Linked DNA regions of Homo sapiens: all the other regions are linked to region 4. Evidence: promoter capture Hi-C in 16 types of primary human blood cells and fetal thymus (Javierre and others, 2016). All regions are on one chromosome and are shown on one strand. The core of a region is centred on a gene start or on the middle of the fragment in contact, and the rest is flanking DNA. Distances in the headings are between cores, read along the strand shown.

Region 1 (3,115 bases), core at 199-2,698, 780 kb before region 4:
ATACAACAGAAGAAAGGAGCTGTGTGGAATTTATTGCAAATTATAATAGGAGAATCACAAGACTGCCAGCATGCTGCTGGGTCCTGGTGGAGACAGAGCCCTTGGCCATGGCAGAAAGTGGACATGCAGCCACAGCTGCCCCAATGAGTTAGGGTTGGGCAGAACCATCATATAAGATGAGGCGGGTCAGCAAAAATCCATCTTAAGATGAAAGTGGTATCCCTACAGTCACACACGAGCAGGACCAGGGCACACTACACAAACATAGCTCAGACCTCTGTCATCCACCATGTGTGTACCACTGCATCTTACCAGTTCATACCCATGGCTATGTGGGGAATTCTGTATAACCAAAGGAGGAAGAAAACATCCAAGCTCAGTTCATGCTCAAGTGGGCTTGACGTGTTTGTGTGAGCTGCACATAGATGGCAGCTGCATACAGCCTTGATCAAGGGTGGCCTCGAAAGACAGTAGCGATGGAGAAAGCTCCCAATGGGCAGAATTTGGGGCAGAGTACCTGGTCATCCACTTTGTGTGGAAGGAAAACTAGGCCAGAGTTAGAATATACATGGACTCGTGGGCAGTGCCAAATGGCTTGTCTGGCTTCAGGAGCCTGGAAAGACAAAGGCTGCAAGATCTGGGGCAGGGAGGTCCGGTAGAGGCATGCGGGTAGGCACATGGGAGTGGCAGGCGGAGAGCGTGATGACAGTCTTATTACATGATAGTGCTCACTGGAGAGCATCCACCACAGAAGACGCTCCTAGCAGCCAAGTAGGCGAAATGACTCAGTCAGGTAACATGGGCCAGCCTGTGTCATTGGCCCCCCAGTGCTGGCACAATGGTGGCAGGGATGGAGGCTATGAGTGAGCCCAATGGCACAGCCTTCTACTTACCAAAGATAATGTAGCTACTGCTTCCACCAAGTGTCCAGTCTGCCAGTAATGGAGACAAATACTGAACTTGATAGAAAGCCGAAGGGCCACTGACTCATTCTGAAATCTAAATAGACTGCTACTCTGAGTACAGATTTCTCTCCCAACCAGAAGGCCTCCATCAGAAGCACTAAGACAGGGCTCATGGAGTGTTGGCTTTGTCGGCAGTGGACAGCACCTCCATTGTGAAGGACGCAGCATGGGCTGTGATGGTGGATGCCTGTCACCTACTGAACTAGACAGGAGCTTCTGATCTTATAGGAAATTGGCATGGCTGTTAAAGGCCTAGTGCCAGCTCACAGGCACTACCTGACAAGAATGGGATGCTGTCCTCCAGGATGCAGGAGGCACTTGGGATCAAGCACTTTTACATGACACTTTGTCCCCAGTAGAAAGCCCTCAGGTCTGGAAACCAAGATGTGCTGACTCCAGCTCCCAGAAGCCAACTTGGAGCATCTGTGCTTCCCATGCCCTGAATTCTGAGCTCTGCAGGTTGAAATGTCTGGGTTTCCAAAGGGAAATTTTTCCCTGGGGACACAGCGACCCAACCCCTCACTCAAACTCAAAGTAAGGGAGTGAACTGCTAAGGTCACAGACTAACCTGGGCCTATGCTAGGCCCCAGGCCTCCTGGATCCCTGCCTCTGGCCGGACCACGGTCTCAGGCAGGACCACTGCTTCTGATTCACACAACTGCCGCCAATGCCCTTTCACAGAGCGCATGGCCTCCGAAGGGTGGAGTCAGGCCAGGCAGTGTGGGAGCGTCCAGAAGATTCAGCACAGCATGCGTGAAGCGAGCACCTGCACCCAGCTGACACTCCCTGTGGGGAGGGAGGGCTTAGGGCTGGGGAGAAGGAGAAGGGTGGGTGTGTGTGTTGGGAGATGAGAGTCAGACATTTCTCCATGCCCCAGGGCCCTTTTTCTTCCTCCTCCCAGTCCTGAGGTGGGGGCTCTGACTCCTAGCACTATGCATACAGTACCCTTATTTCTAGGGGAGGAGGTGGAGATCCCTGCAGTCTGGCTAGGGAGGAGAGTGTGCTGTGTCTCACACCCTTCCATACCCAGGGAGAGTGAGGGGCGTGGTATTCCACACACCCCTGAGACCTAAGATCCCTAACATGGGCCTGGTGGCACACACTGTGGCCTGAAAGAGCAGTCGCTACTGCTCAGCAGATAACCAAGGTGCCAGCTGAGCGGAACCAGCCTCACAGGCCTGCAGAGGCTCAGATCTGCATGTTGGCCCAGACCCCAAAAATGGAACGGTAGGGTGCCCTCAAACCCATGCTCAAGGGTGCACAGGTGCCACCTGCCCCCAGATGCCGCCCCACCTGGGAGATTGTCCCTCCACTGTCACTGTGTCATGATGAAATCTTCAGAAGCCTGGGGATGTGGGGACTGGCCAGAGGCATCTGTGCCCCCAACACTCAACACAGTTCCTGCACAAAGATGCTTGTGGAAGGAAGGAGGGAGGGAAGAAGGAAGGGAAAGATGGAGGCAGGAGGGAGGGGAGGAAGGAAGGGCGGATTCTACTAGAGACCTTCTCTCATTCAGTGGTTCGATGCCACAGCCCACCATAAGGCTGTGCACGCCCAGTGTCTCGCTGGATGCTCATAGCTCAAGGGGCACTTGGGGGTGCTCCAGCCTGGGCACCAGAAGCTCTGCTGGGGCTGCATCTGATTCACATAACTGCAGCCACTGCCCTTAACTTTCCTCCATCGCCTTTGCTGAAGTCAGGATTCCAGCTGAGCCCCGTTCCTCCCTTGCCTCCCTCCCTGCCAAGATTTCTCATGCGGGCCTCTGAGGAGGTGGAGGCCTGCACCCCGCTATCAGGGAGCTCGCAAAAGTGAGTTTCCATCTGCCGAAGACCACCATGCACCCCTCGGTCCGAAAAATGCCACTGACTGACATGACTTTAGAATCTGGGAGTGCTGCACACTTGGTGGGGGAGGGGGAGGGAAGCCCCTTCTAGAAGGTCTGGGCTCTCCCTGGAGACTCTGATGAGGGTCTGAGGAAGTGGGATCCATCCTGTGCTGGCTGCTGTTTCCAAGACAGTCTCAGGAACAGCAGGATTGACTACTGTTTGGGTGCCAGCAAGAGCAAGGAGGGCTCAGCATTTGGGGATTCGTAGCAAAAGAGGGGTGCAGCAAAGCGGCTCTAGGGCACGATTGGTGAGGAAGCAGTGCTC
Region 2 (3,398 bases), core at 563-3,062, 880 kb after region 4:
GTAGGAAGGCATGAGAAGTTTAAAAAAAAAATCCTTCTTTTTCAAGTATACTTCATTTAATGCAAAGATTCAAAGTAAGACTCCACAAAATAACCCTTTAGATCTAAATGGATTTAAACACAATGAATATCAAGAAGTGGTCTCTATTGACAAATGCAGAAAACCATGCTATCATCCAGACAACTTAAGCAGAACTGGCTAAATCTGTAATATTTTTGCAAAACCAGGCATTTTGTTAGTATGCAGAAAATAAATCTCGGGACCCCAAAATCACTAAGCCAAAGGGAAAAGTCAAGCTGGTAACTGTGTCAGGCAAACTTGCCTCCTATTTTATTCCTAAGATAGCTTATCTTTACAGGTGTGGGACAGAAAGTCCTCCTTCTACTCACCTGAGACAAGTGTTTATCTGATTGCTTCCTCTGCCCCATTGTTTATGTAAAAATGCAGACTCACTGAGCCAGATTAAGGCATAAATGACTATTCCTGTACCTGCCTCTCACAAGTAAATTGTGTATTCAGTGAAAGGCAGATCAAAGACTCAAAAGAATGCAACCATTTGTCTCTTATCTAACTGTAACCTGCCTTTCCCCACTTTCTGGATTAAAACAATGTACATTTTACACATATTGACTGATGTCTCAAGTCTCCCTAAAATGTATAAGAGCAAGCTGTGCCCCGACCACCTTGGGCACATGTCATCAGGACCTCCTAAGGCTGTGTCACAGGCATGTCCTTAACTTTGGCAAACTAAACTTTCTAAATTGAGACCGATCTCAGATATTTTGGGTTCAAAACATAATTATTTCAATTATTTGCTACATTTGACAATATTATAAACCAGCCTTTATAGTATTTTCTGATATAGGTGGCAACACAGGAGGGAAAATTGTAATAATCTTGGCAGTCAAAATTGATCATTTAGTAACTCTACCTGGGTTTCAATTTCCATCTGCTGCTATTGTACCTCTGAAGCAAACAAATGGAGATGCTACAGCAGTATCTGAAAAACCAAAGTTATGGTACTTACCACATTAAAGTTGCTATCAGAAGACCAACGCCTACACAATCTATGAGTACAACCCAAAGGAGAAGCTTTATTGTCTCAAAGAATCCCATGTCCAGCACAAAGCCAAATCCTATAGTGGACACTGAAAGAAAGATTCACAAGATTCATTTAGGGACTCTGCTAGGTTCTGGAAATACAGGACACATCCCTTGCCCTCCAGATGCCCAGGCTAGTGGGAGAGACAGGTCTTTAAACAAAACTCCCAAGATGTGTGAACACTACCTTGGGACACAGCGTGGCCACTGAGAGAGTTGAAGTTTCCTGAGGTGGGCCCTTGCCAGGCTGATTCACCACGGTGGCCTCAGTATTTAGAACGCCAGTGTAGAGAAGGCACTAACATAGTTTAAGTCCAGTTAAGGTGCAAAACACCCTATAAACTTCAATATCTTACCCACTTCAACACCCTACAGGTAAATGAGACCCTTGCATTATGGAATTGGAGAACTTCAGTTTCTCAGGTTCCCATCAATACCTTTACAATTCTCACTGTGGATTTGCCTGTGAAATGCAATTTCCAGTTTCATATTCCTATTCACAGTCAGCTGACATTTGGGTACCGATTCAAGTACTTAAAAAGATATGGAGTGAATCTTGTCCCCTGCTTTTCAATGTCCTAGGGTAACAGTTTACTCTGGCATCTGCTTGGGACCTGTAGAACCAAGACTACAACTTTCTTTCCTGTGAGATTTTTTGAGGCTTCAGTAAAAAGGAGAAATAGTTTCCAATATTTCCAGATTCTGACCCACAACACATTTATAACAAAAAATCTAATCAGAAACACTCAGCGTTCAATTCTATCTCAGATAAACACACTTACCACAGAGCCAGATACTTAACAGGACCAAGAAAGCAGGGTCATCTCTGGCCCACTGGTCCTTCGTCTGTTTTCGATAATGAAAATTTCTGTAAACTCTCTGTGGGGATGTGAACAGGTAGAGCATCTGCCAGGCAGCAAATTCAAAGTCCATTTGCCGAAAGCGGAAAAGCCTTCTCAGATATTTGTAGCGTTTCGCTCCGGCTGTGTGTCTTGCCGCATCCCTGGAATTCAAGACTCCGTTCCCCTGCACTAAGGAATTCACTGAAGTACTCGGTAACATCTTCCTAGATGGAAGAAAAACATTTCTTTTACACGTATTCTGAAGAAACATTTGGCTACCGACACTCCTCTTCTGAGTTATTTGGCAGGGAGGTCACTTTCCATGTTCTTCCCAACCCTAGAGAAAGGCCAGGAGTCAAAAGCAAATGCAGTTAGTTCTGAGGCGGGTCTTGGGGCTTGGGAACCGCAGACTGCAACCTCAGGCAAGGGCAACAGCCCACCCTTCTGAATCACCTAATAACACTTATCCAGGGGCAGCTACCATTACAGAGACAGGGATGATGTGACTGCCCCATGACTCCGAGGATAGTGATAGAGCCAAGATTGGAAATCTGACTCGAAATTCCGTGCTCTTAACCACCAAGCTTTTAAGAAAATGCCTAAGAAAGCAGTTTCAGCCGGTTAGAACAGTGTTACTGAAGAGGTCAAATAAATGGCCTATTCACACAGATCCATCAGCGCACTGCCAGCAAGCTTCTCGGTCACTAGAATGAGATTAAAAAACCAAGAAAAACTCCGATCCCTAGTGTTTTACATCCGGAATAGTTCAGCAGAGGGAGCGGTAGCGTCGGAGTCCAATCCAACCGGTCCGAGCTCCGGGGAACGCCGGCCACTGCCCGGCTGCCCGTCTCCCCTCCACTTCGCAGGCCCCCCAGACGCCGGCAGGGTCTGGCCGAGCCCAGCTGCTCCCTCCCTGCCCGGGGCCGCGGGTACGGCTGCCAGATTTAGCAAATAAAAACACAGAATACCCAGCTCCATTTGGATTTCAGACAGGCCACGAATAAGGTTTTAGTATGCCTACATCCCACGCAACATTTCGGACATGCTTATACTAAATGCTCTTTCTTTATCTACGATGCAAATGTAACTGGGCGTCCTTTCATTTTAGCCGCAACTCTATCGCCGGCCGAGGGGCCGGACGCCGACATGGTCACTGCCAGGCCGCAGCGACGTCAGGCCGCAAGCTGTCGGGATTAAATGGCCCCCGGCGCGAGCCCGGGCCGCGGGAGGGCAGAGTGGTCCTCAGGCCTCACCTGGAGTCCTGCTACAGCCTCGACCCACGTCCGAACCAGCCCACCACCTCCTCCCAGCAGCCGACCCCAGCCGCCACCGGGCGGGCTTCCCTTCCCTCAACGGAGCCGGCCCTTGGGGCGCGCCGCGTCACGGGAACCGACTTCCGCCGCGGACGCGCCACCTCTCGGCCCCCGTAGTCCTCGGCCCTACCGCCGCGGCCCG
Region 3 (3,165 bases), core at 184-2,683, 830 kb after region 4:
GTCTTCAGACATTGCTAAATGTCTTCCAGAGGGACAGAATCACCCCCAGTTGAGAAACACTGGTTGAGAATGACATGTGGTCTATAACCCACAAGCAAAGCTTCTTGAAGATGTAAGAGCTTTGGTTTTTGCAAAATATACGTATTTAAAGACACATACATACTTATTTGTTTTTCTTCAATTTTCTATTTTCTGTGAGACCTTGATTTTTTTTTTTTAATTCAGATACATTTTAGGAACGTTAATGCCTGCAGTTGGCTTAGGATTTCTATGCTACTTTAATAAGAGCAGTATTTTATAGTTTTTAAAGCATTACTTTAAAAAAAAACTTTTGCTATTGGAAAAAACTGTATTTTCTGTAAATGAAATCAGTGATGAGCTGCTCCTTTTAACACCTTGCGGCCATAACATTATACGTTGCTACAAATGATTACTGATGTGTTTTATGTTAAACACAGTGTATTGAGCTTTAAGATAAATAAAATCCCACAGAACTTAAGTAACTCAGCTAACTTTCTCATAATAGATTTTCTAAAGAAATCAGTTCTGGCTTGGTGGAAGTCATATCACCCCCTGAAAGCTATTATCCTGACTTGACAAACCTAAAGGAGACATTTGGAGACTCCAAAGAAAGAGTAAGGTGAGCATGTGCCGTTTAAAATCCTCCACACTTGTGAGTGTAAATATTTAATACATGTAGTTTTTATTTATCGAAGCTGAAAACATTTTAGAGTTGAATTTGGTAAAATATTCTAGGTAAGTCTCATTAAGTCCAGGACCGCTTGGAAATAATGTAGAGTTTTCTTAGAATATGTAAAAACTTAATATTAGCTTTTATTTTACTGTGTTTTCTTAAACTAGCTTTTAGATCCACTTCTCTTATGTGTTTCTGTAGGCTACCAGGAATTCACTGACAGGGTTTAATACTGTAAATTTAAATATGAATTTTTTAAAGCATTCAGTACCTATTTGTGAACTTTGATCTGCGTGCAAACAGTCCTAGGCACCAGAATAGGGACCCTAAAATTGTAATTTTTGAAGCACTCATTTGATGAAACATTAAGATATTACTGAAAAAAGGGTCTGTGGTCAAGGAAGTTTGGAAAAATATGTATTAAGAATTTTTTTCCCAATAAATGTCTTTACCGTTGGATATTTTTGTGCCTCTTATGAATTAATATGTTTCTAGAAGGGGAACATGTATACATACTTACTTGATATTAGACTCATTTTTTTCCTCAGGACAGCTTGAGAATTAGTGTTCTTGGGAATACATTTTGATAAAGTCTTCATTAGAGGAAAGTGAATTTTCTTTGACTCTTCGTCCTAAGTGAGTGTGTGTGTATGTGTGTGTGTGTACACATATACATAGATGACATGTTATGTAGACATTTGACATTTATACATTTAATCTTATTTTACTAAATTTGAGTCTGATTCCTAACTTACTTTTTGAAAATGTTTATTTCAGATGGAGAACAAAGCAAAACCTAGATTACTGTTTTCTAATGATGTATGCTCAAGAAAAGGGCATATATTACATTCAGGTAAGTGTAGTTTTTCCTTTGTTTTTCATGCTTGTAAAGAAAAAGTGTTATCAAGGGTATGTTTTCATTAAAACAGGAAGTTTTGAAAGTGCAAACCCTCTGAGATCTGACAAATCATAACTATCTCAGAGCAGAGGGGTCTCCATGGTAACTGAGCATGTGGGCTCTGATGTTTCTCCACTGAGTAGGGAAGCCAGCCCTCCACTTAGCGGGGGACCTGCAACTCACTTATCTTTTTCCTCTTTTTCTCCCATTCCCCCATCTTCTCTTCCCTCTTCCCTCTCTCCACTGTCAAGAAGAACTAAGATGTCATTATTTGGCAGATTTTAAAGAGGAATTTTCTTACAATTTTTCTTTAGTGGTCTTACAATGAACTAATTTTTTTTTGTAGGCCACAATACTGTTACCACTATTTTGAAGATAATAAAATTGACATTTAATTCTAACAGTCCAATTATTTTTAGCAGCACAACAGTCCAATTTTTACCAAGAACACAATATGTCATGGGATTACAGACACGAGCTGCTGCACCTGACATGTAGCATGTTTTAAAATTAGGAAGTATGAGGCCTCCAACTGTGTTCCCTTTTTTTTAAGACTATTTTGGCTGTTTAGGGTCACTTCAGACTCCATGTAAATTTGAGGAGGATTTTTTTCTATTTCTGTAAAAAATGCCTTGGGAATTTTGGTAGGGATTGTATTGAATCTGTAGATCGCTTTAGGTAGTGTGGACATTTTAATATTATTAAGTCTTCCAATACATGAGCACAAGATGTCTTTCCATTTATTTGTATCTTCTTTGATTTCTTTTAGAAATGTTTTGTAGAAAAATTTTCCACCTCCCCAGTTAGGTTTATTCCTAAGTATTTTATCTTTTTTGATACTACAGTAAATGGCATTGTTTTCTTGATTTTTTTTTTGGATTGGTCATTGTTAGTATACAAAAATACAACTATTTTTGTGTGTTGATTTTGTATCCTGAAACTTTGCTGAAATCATTTATTGCTTGTAGTTTTTGGTGGATTCTTTAGGTTTTTCTACATATAAGATTATTTCATCTGCAAATAATGATAATTTTACTTCTTCTTTTCCGGTTTGGGTACCTTTTACTTTTTTTACTTGTTTAATTGCTCTAGTTAGGATTTCCAGCACTATGTTGACTAGTAGTGGTGAAAGTGGGACTCCTTGCCCTGCTTCTAATCTTAGAGGGAAAGCTTTCATTTGTTTGCTGCCAAGTGTGATATTACCGATGGGCTTTTCATATATTACCTTTATTTTGTTGAATAAGTTTTTTTCTATTTCTAGTTCGTCACATTTTTTTTAATCAAGAAAGTGTCTTGAATGTTGTCAAATGCTTTTCCATACCAATTGAGATGATCATGTGTTTTTTTCCTCCATTTTGTTAATGTAGTATATGTTACACTGATTGATTTTTGTGTGTTGAACGATCCCTGTATTGCAGGTATAAATCCCACTTGGTTATGGTGTATATAATTCTTTTAATGTGCATTTTAATTCCATTTGCTAGTGTTCTGTTGAGGATTTTTGCATCAGGGATATTGGTCTGTAGTTTTCTTGTGTCTTTGTCTGGCTTTGGTGTCAGAGAAATGCAGGCCT
Region 4 (3,158 bases), core at 277-2,776:
GATGCCAAGGCTGGTGGATTACCTGAGGTCAGGACTTCCAGACCAGCCTGGCCAACATGGTGAAACCCCCTCTCTACTAAAAATACAAAAATTAGCCGGGCATGGTGGCGCATGCCTGTAATCCCAGCTACTCGGGAGGCTGAGGTGGGAGAATCACTTGAACCTGGGAGGCGGAGGTTGCAGTGAGCCGAGATCGCGCCATTGCACTCCAGCCTGGGCAAAAGAGCAAAACTTCGTCTCAAAAGAAAAGAAAAGAAAAGAAAGCAATTACGCAATTTGTTTTAAATTATGACGTCTTTGAAAAGTATGCAATCTAAATTCGTTGGATTAGCGACGAGAATACTGAAGTTGAAGTGCATTTATAGAAGTCTATAAAATGGCAAAAAACTGAAAGGGAAAGAAATGAGCTATTTGAGTATTCTCTGTGTTGCTAGTAAACAAGTTCCAACTCTGCAAATCAGTTTTCAAAAGAATACTGATTGTTTCCTAAGTACCTGCAAACTCTGAAGCATTTTAGGCAAGGGAATGAGTGGGAAAAAAGTATCTTCATGTTTGTGCATTACAACAATAAAGACTATTATGTAACAATGTGGAGTCTTCAAAGCGACCCTGCCAAGAGGGAGAAAGTGGTCCTTATGGACGGATTGTTTTCTGCTAGAAGGCCCTCAATTAGAATTGTACTTACGCATACATAATATAGGATATTATTTTTATATTCATAGAAAACTGCTTTCTCGGGTAACTCCAGCGCTGTACATGGGATGGGATACCGGCCCTCCGTTTACAAATACTCAGGCGCAATGCTGCCCGGGCACTCAAAGGACAGAAGATAGTGTCTGTGCCCTGCGGGAGCAGGCCACGAATCCCGAAAACGCCGTGGCGCAGTGCTCCTTCCCGCGAACCTGAGTGGGCCGTGGTTCTCGGTTGCTCTGGACATAGGAAAATGTCAGTTCATGTGTGTCCCTTTCTCCACTAGATGTCACTGTAAATCAATTGCTTAAGGAGGGAACCCGGGCGTCTGGCGCATCTTCACACAGTACCGGGGTTTGAAGCCCGGTCAGTGTCTGCACTTGTGTCCTTCCCCACTGGGGAGCCCCAAGGCGGGGCAGGCGCGGGGACTCGCTGTGCACGGAGCGGCGCGCTGTCCGAATGGCAACCGAAGAGCCGCGACCCGGTCAACGAAGCGCGGGGGTGACCGGAGCAGGACGGGCGGGCAGGCGGCGCAGTGCGTGGGCGGGCCCGCGCTGCGCTCCCCTCCGCCCAGCTAGCGAGACGGTCACGTGCCGCCCAGGCGCTGCCCCTTGCGGGCGGCTGCAGAACAACAGGGCGGGGCCGGGGAGGGGAGGAACACGGAGGCCGACGCCGGGCGCCGCGGTGCTACGCCCGAGGCTGGGGTCGCCCCGGGCCGGGGGGAGCAGAGCGCGTGCGCCGCGCGGCTGTGAGCGCGAGCGGGGCCGGGGAGCGCGCGCGGAACGCTAGGGGGCGTGGCTGCGGCGCGCGCGCTAACCGGAGGGGGAGGGGCGGAGAGCCACCGCGGAGCGCGCGCGGGGTTGGTTGCCGCGAGCGTGGGGGAGCGTGGACCGCGGCGCTGCTCAGCGGTGGGGCTGCCTTCCCCCGGCCCTCCTCCCTGGTCCCTGGCGAGGGCACTGGCGGCGGCGGGGCCGGGGTCCGCAAGGCCGGAGAAGGCCGCCGGGCCCGGGCATGGTGGTCTGGGGCAACGCGGAAGGTGAGCGACCCCCGGGCCGGCGGCGGGGTGGGGGAGGGGCGGGATCGGACACGCGTCGCCCGGAGGCGCCGCAGACCCGCCCGGCAGCGGCCAGAGCGCGGTCGGCCTGAGGTGGCGCGGGGGAGGGGTGCGTCGCCCCGGCCCCGGCCCGCGGCCGTCCTGTCGCGGCCTGGGCTGTCCACGGCGCCTTCCCCTGACGCTCGCAGCCGCCGGGTTATGTAATGTGTGACCTCCCCTCCCCTTCCCTTCCGTCATGGCGCGGCCGGCCCCGCGCCGCCGCCAGCCCCATGGGCCGCCCCGCGCCGACCCCTGGCGCAGCGGCCCTTCCCTCCGCGCCCGGCCGCATCCCGCCGGCCCGGTCAGACCGCGCCGCAAACTCCTTCCTCCTGCGCCGGCGCCTCGGCCGGCCATTCAGTTCCGCGCCATTCATTCACGCGCGCGTTCGGGCGTTCGTTCCACAAGCGTTTGTAGAATGTCGACCCGGTCGAGCCGCCGCTCCCACCCGCACTCCAGCCACAGCGTTTTTCCGCACCCCGCCTTCGACGTCCCCGGTGCATCCCAGAACCGGTCGGAATGTCCGAAGGCGGTTGTTGCTCCCTTGTTTTTCCTTGCTGCTTGTCCGTTCGCTAAATACGCTGGGCGCCGTTCCCCAACTGTCCTTCCGAGAGCCCCTTGCCCACTTCTGTACTGTTACAGTGACGCCGCTCTGGGCGCACCGAGCCGCGCTGTGTTTCGCTGCTCTTCCTACCTATTCTCAGTTTGTAAAGAAATAATCTCACATAACACTCCTTAATGTACTCCTCCGTAAGATAAATTGCAGATAATATACGTCTGCTAATTCTCTTTATCTCCACGTCTTCTCACGCCATGTACTAAGTAGAAATGGTTTCATTTAGGTGAAAATAATGCAGACTAGCACATAGCACAACAAGGGCTTGTAACTATTAAGGACTTTATGTAACAGTCTGTAATTCTGTGTATCTGTCTGGTCTTTCCGGACTTGGCACTTTAGTCTCCGAGAATAAGCCATTTCCTGTTTAGGTAGGGTAGGACCAACCATAACCTTGGTTCTTTCTATGGAGTTCTGTATGTAGCAAATCAGCCTGTGGGAACCATCTATCTGTCCACCAACCTTTCACACATATTCTTGGGTTTGCCCGTGCAGGGACCAGTGCTGCGTATTGTTCCCTGCCTTCCTGTACTGGACACTTAAGAGCTCACCTAAAGTTCCTCTTCCAGGAATCATTCTCCAGTATACAAGGCTCTCTTCCATTCAATTCTTAGGCTATTTGCGCCTTTTCCTGTGTTGCGTTTATCTTTTTAGCCCTGTCTTCTCTTACTGTGTAGGACCTTTTGAGGGTAGAGTCTGTACCAAACTCCTATCTTTTGTTGTAGAACCTTAACCGCTATTTTACGGTAAACCGTACATATT

Evidence for each region. Contacts are between HindIII fragments. The CHiCAGO score rates a contact against its expected background, and 5 or more counts as called.
Region 1: a contact is called between a fragment that was not itself captured here and the fragment with the promoter of REV1 in region 4, in 2 of 17 cell types (M1 macrophages and M0 macrophages). The highest score is 7.3, in M1 macrophages.
Region 2: a fragment that was not itself captured here is called in contact with the fragment with the promoter of REV1 in region 4 in 1 of 17 cell types (fetal thymus); the score reaches 6.9 in fetal thymus.
Region 3: a contact is called between a fragment that was not itself captured here and the fragment with the promoter of REV1 in region 4, in 1 of 17 cell types (neutrophils). The highest score is 6.3, in neutrophils.

Annotation. Positions count from the first base shown.
Region 1 is chr2:100,263,970-100,267,084 of GRCh38, reverse strand. No RefSeq gene overlaps it. Among named protein-coding and RNA genes, the nearest start is that of LONRF2, 57 kb to the left of the region's middle. The HindIII fragment of the contact is 7,771 bases long and covers 1-3,115 here.
Region 2 is chr2:98,608,525-98,611,922 of GRCh38, reverse strand. It overlaps UNC50 (unc-50 inner nuclear membrane RNA binding protein), which reads right to left and starts at 3,334. Exons shown (of 6, transcript NM_014044.7): 1 at 3,197-3,334; 2 at 1,884-2,167; 3 at 1,028-1,148. The coding sequence starts at 2,163. RefSeq lists a silencer at 3,107-3,206 and an enhancer at 3,270-3,398. The HindIII fragment of the contact is 1,435 bases long and covers 1,095-2,529 here.
Region 3 is chr2:98,653,827-98,656,991 of GRCh38, reverse strand. It overlaps MGAT4A (alpha-1,3-mannosyl-glycoprotein 4-beta-N-acetylglucosaminyltransferase A), which reads left to right. Exons shown (of 16, transcript NM_012214.3): 7 at 527-640; 8 at 1,472-1,547. Among named protein-coding and RNA genes, the nearest start is that of UNC50, 47 kb to the right of the region's middle. The HindIII fragment of the contact is 2,662 bases long and covers 103-2,764 here.
Region 4 is chr2:99,488,385-99,491,542 of GRCh38, reverse strand. It overlaps REV1 (REV1 DNA directed polymerase), which reads left to right and starts at 1,526. Exons shown (of 23, transcript NM_016316.4): 1 at 1,526-1,726. RefSeq lists an enhancer at 703-1,588 and silencers at 1,022-1,691, 1,802-1,901, 1,972-2,051. The HindIII fragment of the contact is 11,070 bases long and covers 1-3,158 here.